Linked DNA regions of Homo sapiens: region 2 is linked to region 1. The links are contacts of gene promoters, found by promoter capture Hi-C in human tissues and cell types (Jung and others, 2019). All regions are on one chromosome and are shown on one strand. Each heading gives the region's core, a stretch centred on a gene start or on the middle of the fragment in contact. The rest is flanking DNA. Distances are from core to core; before and after follow the strand shown. Region 1 holds the start of ANKRD9 (ankyrin repeat domain 9). Region 2 overlaps TRAF3 (TNF receptor associated factor 3).

What was found. Contacts are between HindIII fragments. The study calls those that stand out against the background at their distance.
Region 2: a contact is called between a fragment that was not itself captured here and the fragment with the promoter of ANKRD9 in region 1, in 1 of the 25 tissues and cell types used here (dorsolateral prefrontal cortex).

Annotation. Positions count from the first base shown.
Region 1 is chr14:102,507,757-102,511,457 of GRCh38, forward strand. ANKRD9 (ankyrin repeat domain 9) reads right to left here and starts at 2,020. Exons shown (of 4, transcript NM_152326.4): 1 at 1,773-2,020; 2 at 885-1,090; 3 at 719-793; 4 at 1-186. The coding sequence starts at 133. LOC105370679 (a long non-coding RNA gene) reads left to right here and starts at 2,287. Exons shown (of 4, transcript XR_007064352.1): 1 at 2,287-3,701. RefSeq lists silencers at 808-969, 1,964-2,403, 2,564-2,613 and enhancers at 2,094-2,737, 2,738-3,383, 3,384-3,701. The HindIII fragment of the contact is 3,197 bases long and covers 811-3,701 here.
Region 2 is chr14:102,783,711-102,787,411 of GRCh38, forward strand. All of the region lies in intron 1 of TRAF3 (TNF receptor associated factor 3), which reads left to right. Among named protein-coding and RNA genes, the nearest start is that of TRAF3, 8.1 kb to the left of the region's middle. The HindIII fragment of the contact is 5,113 bases long and covers 1-3,701 here.

The sequences.
Region 1 (3,701 bases), core at 770-3,269:
GCAGGTCGCGCACCGCCTGGTAGAAGGCGAACGACGACTTGCGGCACTGCTTCTGCGCTCGCGAGCGCGCCGCGCCCGAGGCCTCGGGCCCGCCGTCCGCGCCACCCCCAGGCCGCCGCGCGTCCCACGGCATGCTGGCGGCGGGGCGTTCCTGGGCCTCAAGGCATGGATCCCGCGAAGGCACACCTGCGGGGAAAGGAAGAGGCCACGGTGAGGCGCGGGGAAACTGGGGAGGCCCGGGGACTCCCCTCTGCCCCTCACACAGCCCCTCCGGTCCTGGCCCACCAGGCCTGTACCTACCTCCAGCCTCGGCCAGGCCCTTCCAGTCACCCTACAGCTCCATCTCTCCGACGCCCAGAACCACCGCCTCCATCCTTGATCTAGCTGTACCTGTTCTCCCTCCTTGAAACTGACTTGCTCTCTGGCACCTCTGCTGGAAATGCCCTTGCTGCCCATGCCCTCAAATCTCCCCTCCCCTCTCCAACCCAGGGACCCACTGGAAGAGCTTCTGTTCCCACCTAAGCCAGGTTCATACGACCCCAAATAAAGAAAAGGCCAGGGAGGGGATGAGAAAGCTTGGGCCCACATCTCAAGCTGAGGCAAATCCACTCTCCAGCCCAAGCGCAACCCTGACCCTGATCTCCGACCCCAGACCACTTGGAGGCCCCTGGAGCCTCTTCCTGGGCTGTTCAGAGGCATGATCCAGACTCAGACCTACCTGGTTCCTGCACCGCGATCACCTAGTTCCGGGGATGTGGGTATATCACAGTCCCTGGCCGAGCCTCAGCTTTATCTGTAAGAAAGGGGAGGGGTGGACGACGGCTGTGCGGGCGGGGTGAGCCTGGGGCGTGGCACCAGCCCTCTATCCAAACATGTTTGCTTACACGTTAGCTCCTGGGAGGAGATAGGAGGGTGAAAACAACCTGGAGACCGGTGTGCACCGCACTGCACAGTCTGCCATCCTCTTCAGGTCCCATACCTCTCTTGATCTCCCCGACTACTAGATGAAGCGGGTACTGCCATCCCACTTTCCAGCAGGGCACAAGCTTCTCCAATTCTCCAAGGTCAGCAAGCCACGGCAGAGCCAGGCCTAGAACTCAGGTCCCCTGCGTCTCAGTTTGGGCTCATTCCAGAATTGGTGGGGACCCCCAACCCACAGGCAATCGAGCTTAGGCCCTGACCCTGCCCTCTGAGTCCCCAGCCCCGACCTGAGCCTAGGCGTCTGACCTCTGGCTCCGTCCCAACCTCCCTACTGCCTTCTTTCAAGGGTAAGCCCTTGGTCACAAGGGGCCTGGGACAGAAGGCAGGCCGCGTCCACACACACTGACTGGGTCACTATCACTGGCAGTAACTGAGTTAAAGAGAGCGGCGCGGTGCGGGTAGGCTGTGGCCCGTGGGCAACACCGTGACTGGAGCCCCTTCCCCAAGCCTGGGCCTCCGGGCCCCAGATATGCCCTGTGCCGGCACGCGTGGGGCGCCGGGCGGGTTACGTAAAGTTCGGCCTCCCCACGTCACCGGGCAGAGTCACGGCCGCGGCTCGTGAATAAGGGGGTTGGGCCATCGAAGGCAGCGCCGCGCCCGGGGCCACCCGCCACCTCCTACCCGTCCCCTCCCGGCCTGCACGGCCAGACGTCGGGCGGCGGAGGGTCGCGGGGCCGAGCGGGGCGTCCGCGCGCAGGTGGCCGGCGCAGCGAGGGCTGCACCTGCGTGCGCGTGTGCCGGAGGAGGAGGGGGCGGCGGCCGCGGGCGCGGCGCGGGGGACGGGGACTCACCATGGGGGGCGCGGGGGCCACAGGCCGGGCGTCCCCGCCCCTGCCGCGGACCGGAGCGCGCGCTGTCCCCCGCGGGCGAGCGGGCAAAGGTCCCACGACGGACGCACGGGAGGGAGCCACCGCCGCCCGCGCCCGCCGCAGCCGCGCTCTGAGCCGCCGCGGCCGGATCGCAGGGCGGCGGTGCCGTCGCCGGCGGCGGGCGGCGGGCGGCGGGCGGCGGGCGGCGCAGTGCGGCCCCGGCCAGGCAGGACAGCGGGACCGTCCGCCGCCGCCATTGGCCCGCGCCGCCGGCCCCCGCCACCACCCATTGGCCGCCGCGCTGCACCATTGTTACGTCACTGGCCGGCGGGCGGGGCGCACCGCTGGACCCGCGGAAAACTTCGGAGAAACTTGAGGGAGCGCCGGCGGGGAGAACGGAGAGGAGGGGCGGGGCCGTGGCGAAAGGGGCGGGGCGTTGATGGGCGGGGGCGGGGCTCCCGGAACCCGAGCTGCGGGCGAAGAAAGGCTCCGAGCTCCGAGCTGCCCTAGCCCGGGAGGGCGCCGCTGCTCTGCGAACTCGGGCGCGCGCGTAGGTGGCCCGCCCTCCGCCGTGCGTGACTTTCCTCGTCGCGTCCAGCTCCCCTTTTCTTTGACCTTACGTGACCTTGGGAAAAACCTCCAGGCTGCTACCCCATCTGCACATGGGAGGGCCGGGGGTAGGAGCCGCGACCCCTAAGGGCTCCACCGCCTTCTGCCCGGCCAGGGTCGTGCCTGGCGCGCCCCCGCTCCAGCTGACCCGCGCAAGGGAGGGAGGGGCGGACGGATGGGGACAGCTGTTTAGGAGCGCGCACTGCGCCCATCTCGGCCTCAACACTCATGTTTCCACTTCGTTTCACGACCACCAGCCACAGTGGACACGATGATCCCCAGTTCACCCGCCAGCAAATCAGGGCTCAGAGAGGTGGCCTCAAAGAGAGGAGCGGCCAGGAGGGAAGCCGGGGGTTTGCCCTGCGGTTCTTCCCACATCTGGGCGGGATAGATTCGATTGGGCCTCGGCCACCCCCACCGTCTCCGTCGGGGGTTCCAAGGTTTGGGGTCATGACCTAGGGGGCTTAGGAGCCTGGGTCCATCTCAACTAATTTATGGCCTCACTCGCCCCCAGCGGCTGGGAATTCTAGGCCCATTTTACAGATGTGGACGCAGATCTGGAGAGGGGCAATGACTGCTCAACCCCCCACCCATCCTCCCAGACACGACCTTCCACCTGGAATCCCCCCACACACGTTCTCAGAGGCCAGGCAGCCGGGGTCTCATGGTGAAATCCCCACATTCCATGCAGGGGCTCTTTCTGGTTCCTTCCCTAGAATGCTGTCCCTGCCCTTCCAGTACTATCTCACCAGGGAGACCCTCCCACTCCCCCACTCCGCTCCAACCAAGCAAGGCCTCTGCCTCGCCCCGGTGGGAGGGGCCTCGTCCAGAGGGCACGCCCCTGCACACACAATCAGCCCTGTCCTGGCTTCTCTGTGTGCCCCAGCCAGTCAGTCTGGGTGGAAGTCTTACCTGGGCCCTCTCAACAGACCTAGGCAGGCCTCTGTCCCCAGCCCAACGAGCTCAATCCCTTAAGCACACACGCCACAGAGCAGTCCTGAGAGGCCAGGTGGACAGTACCATGAGGCAGACAAAGCTGTGAGGCCCAGAGAGGGTCAGGCCACCCCAGCCCAGGTAGGCACTCACATGTATCCTGCCCAGGCTGCCATGCATGGACCCACCAGGGGGATGACCAGACCCCACCAGCCCTGCCCCACCTCAGGGCGGGGGACGTTCCAGGCCACGCCATCTCTCCCAGGGAGTCCATGGCAACTGCCAAGCTTACAGCAGCCAGGTTGTCAGCAGGAGTAGGGGTATAGAGGGCACTGGGCCTGGCATCCGCACCCGCCTTTGCCTCAGCTC
Region 2 (3,701 bases), core at 876-3,375, 280 kb after region 1:
ACTGTGTATCCCTGGAGCTGTCCACCCCACAGCTGGAGAAGTGTGGCATGGTGGAGGGTACCAACTTTGAGGATCTGAATTCCAGTCTGCCCTCTGTATTTAGTGGTAGAATGACCTTGGGCAGGCTGCTTGGCCCCGCTGAATTGATGTCCCTATCTATAAAATGGGGCTACTAGCACCAGGGACATCACTTGCTTATTATGAGTAAGATGGATGGGAAAGCATTGTGCAAATGTTAATTTTCATAGTATTAGGGGATTGAGATGTAACAGAGTAAGAATGTTAAGATCTTACAATGTAAATATCAGATCTTGTTAGTTAGGGACCACAGAAGTTTTCTAGTTGAGGTCTCTTATTTTATGTGGGAGGCAGCTGAGGCTCTCAGTGTTTAGGTAAGTAATTCTCCCAAGGCAAATAATGACAAAGCAAGGGCTCTTCACGCAGGATAGGTTTTTCCCTGCATTTTTCCTGTTCCCAACGTTTGCTCCTGGGAAGATGCTTGGCCTTTTTTTTTTTTTTTTTTTTTTTTTTTGAGGTGGAGTTTTGCTCTTGCCCAGGCTGGAGTGCAGTGGCACGATCTCGACTCACTGCAACCTCCGCCCCCTGGGTTCAAGCTATTCTCCTGCCCCAGCCTCCTGAGTAGCTGGGATTACAGGCACCCGCCACCTCGCCTGGCTAATTTTTGTATTTTTAGTAGAAACAGGGTTTCACCACGTTGGCCAGGCTGGTCTTGAACTCCTGACTTCAGGTGATCTGCCCGCCTCGGCCTCCCAAAGTGCTGGGATTACAGGCGTGAGGTACTGGGCCCCTCTGATGCTTGGCTTCTGATTCCAGCTAGGGTCAATTGAGAATTATTGAATCACCCACACTTTCTTTGAGAACTTTCTAAGTGCTAGGGGCTATGCTCGTTGCTAAAGCTAAAAAGTCAGATAGGATGCCGTCTGATCTCTGTTTTCAAGGAGCTTCCATGTGATGAATGAGCCAGAAGAATAATTTCATTATGGCACCATGTAGTAGGTGCCACAACAGTGGAACAGAGGCTCTGGTGCATTGTGGAGGCGCTGTGCAGTTTCAACCTGGGTTAGGAGGAGGCGTTTCCCAAGGAGGTAACTCTTAGGGAAGCTAGCAGCAGGAGTGGGGAAGCCTGGGCTGGCAGGGAGTCGCCTGGCAGAGGGCCCGTGAGTCGGAAGGGGTTCTCCTGTGGCTGTCCTTCAGGGGAGAGGGTACAGGAAAAGGCACCCGGCCACTTCTGGGTGCTGCCTTTGTGACAGCCTAACTTCTGAGGCAGGAATTCTCCCCATTTTGCAGATGAGGAAAAGGAAGAGCAACAGGCCTGTTGGACCCCAGAGTTCATGGTTTCACCACAGCTGAATTACAGTGCAGTTTTAGATTTTCTTCAGATTCTAAACTTCTTAGTTTTGCTTTCAGAGTAGACTTAGTTTTGCTGCTGTAGAGTGCTTTTTAAACAAATTGTGTATTTTTCATGCAGCCTTTCCCTTCCATCCAACATCTGTTTTGCCTATATGGCTGATACTCTAGGCCGCACTCCGTTCCATCTCTGGCGTAAGTTCCTTTCTTACAGCAGCCTCCTCGGATTCACTCTCCTTTGACACATTTGGATGGGAGGTTCTTTACGCAGTGGCTCAGATGCTTCTTACAGCTTGCTGAGTAACAGTCCCTAACCTGATTTGCTAATGTGTTTTCTTTCTCCTTTCTCTCTTAATTTACATTTAAACTGGTAGTCTAGTAATAATGATAGTATTTAGTCATTGTGTCTTACAGGGTTTTACAAACATTAGCTTGTTAGTGATGAACAAGTCCCCAAGGCCTGGTCACTCTGCAGAGAGCATAATGGTTGCAGGCTAGTACCTATTCATCTTGAATTTAATTATAACTGCAGATTGCCTGTGGAAATATGAGTTAAAGGCATGGAAGCCCTTACCACTGTTAGCAGGGAAATGATGTTTGGCTATTTTGGAGAATACTTTAGCTCTTCTGTGAGAACCACTGTCAAGGTTTTGAACGTGCAACCAGGAGGGGTCAGTGGTGGCTGAGCAGAGATGTAGGGGCTTGTTTCATGGCCATTTGTACCTGCTCCAGGAAGGGCTGTGAATAACGGAATGCAGCCAGACACTGAGGCCACTAGGTCAGGTCCTTGGGATGACAGAGGGTAGATTTCTTTGTTCTTAGACCTAAGTTGGCCCTTGTTGGGTGGAGGTGGTGGCGTGAGAGCCTTCCCTGCCTTCTCCAGGTTGAAGGATATTTCTGTGCATCTGGGATAGGTCTCTAGGGTTGAGACGACAAGCTTCTCAAGGGTTGGCTCACTTCATTCTTTCTATTTCTGCAGTCTGGTCTATGATGTACACAGTAAAAAGGAGATCAGTTTATGTATGGAAGGAATTAGACCTGCTTTGAATTCTGGTCTGTCCTTCAGCTAACTATGCTGTTAAATTACTCTTCCTTTCTAAGCCTCAGTTTTCTCATCTATGCAAAGGTAACTGTAGAGTTCACAGTCACGTGGAAAAGCCTCTGAAACCTAAATTCTCCCTCTGGAGATGGATGGTGGTGATGGTCGCACAACATTATGAATGTATTTAATACCACTGGACTATACACTTAAAATGATTACAATGATAAATTTTATGTGTAATTTACCATAATAAAAAAGTAATTGTGAGACTTAAAAGTGAGCCTGGGCTGGGTGCGGAGGTTCATGCTTGTAATCCCAGCACATTGGGAAGCCGAGGTGGGTGGATCACCTGAGGTCATGAGTTCGAGACCAGCCTGAACAGCATAGTGAAAACCCATCTCACCTAAAAATACAAAATTAGCCGGGCGTGGTGGCACATGCCTGTAATTCCAGCTACTTGGGATGTTGAAGCAGGATAATTGCTTGAACCCGGGAGGCAGAGGTTGCAGTGAGCCAAGATCGTGCCATTGCACTCCACCCTGGGCAACAAGAGTAAAACTGTCTAAAAAAAAAACGAGCCTGTGCCAGGTGCAGTGGCTCATACCTATAGTCCCAGCACTTTGAGAGGATGAGGCGGGGGGATCGCTTGAATCCAGGAGTTCTCAACCAACCTGGGCAACATAGTGTTATAAGACCTTGTCTCTACAAAAAATTTAAAAATTAGCTGGGTCTGGTGGCGTGCTCCTGTAGTCCCATCTAACTACTCAGGAGGCTGATGCGGGAGGAGTGCTTGAGCCCAGGAGGTCGAGGCTACAGTGAGGTGTTACTGTGTCACCATACTTCCGCACTTTAGCCTGGGTGACTCAGTGAGATCCTGTCTCAAAACAAGAACAAGAAAAATCAGAGCATGTGAGAGAATATAAGAACCTAATATTTCAGAAGTGATCATTTCTCTTCCCCTTTCCTTTCCTGAGTGGTTTGATAAAGGGAATGACTTATTAGCAATGTGGATGACAGGCTGTCTTGGAAGTATGGCCTGTCCCTGGAAGAAATACCGGTGGGAGTAGAAGGACATTATTGGACTGCAAATAAATTATTTATAAAAAGGGTAAAATGTCTAGAAACTGAAATCACAGTATATTTGCACAAAAGGAACATCTATAGATATCTCCCTTTTTAAAAAGCAATTTTAACATATGAATTTTTATATATTTAAATTCGTATTTTAGCACTTTTTTTTCTGTTATTTAGCAATAATAATATTCTTCAATTTGGGCTGGGCGTGGTGGCT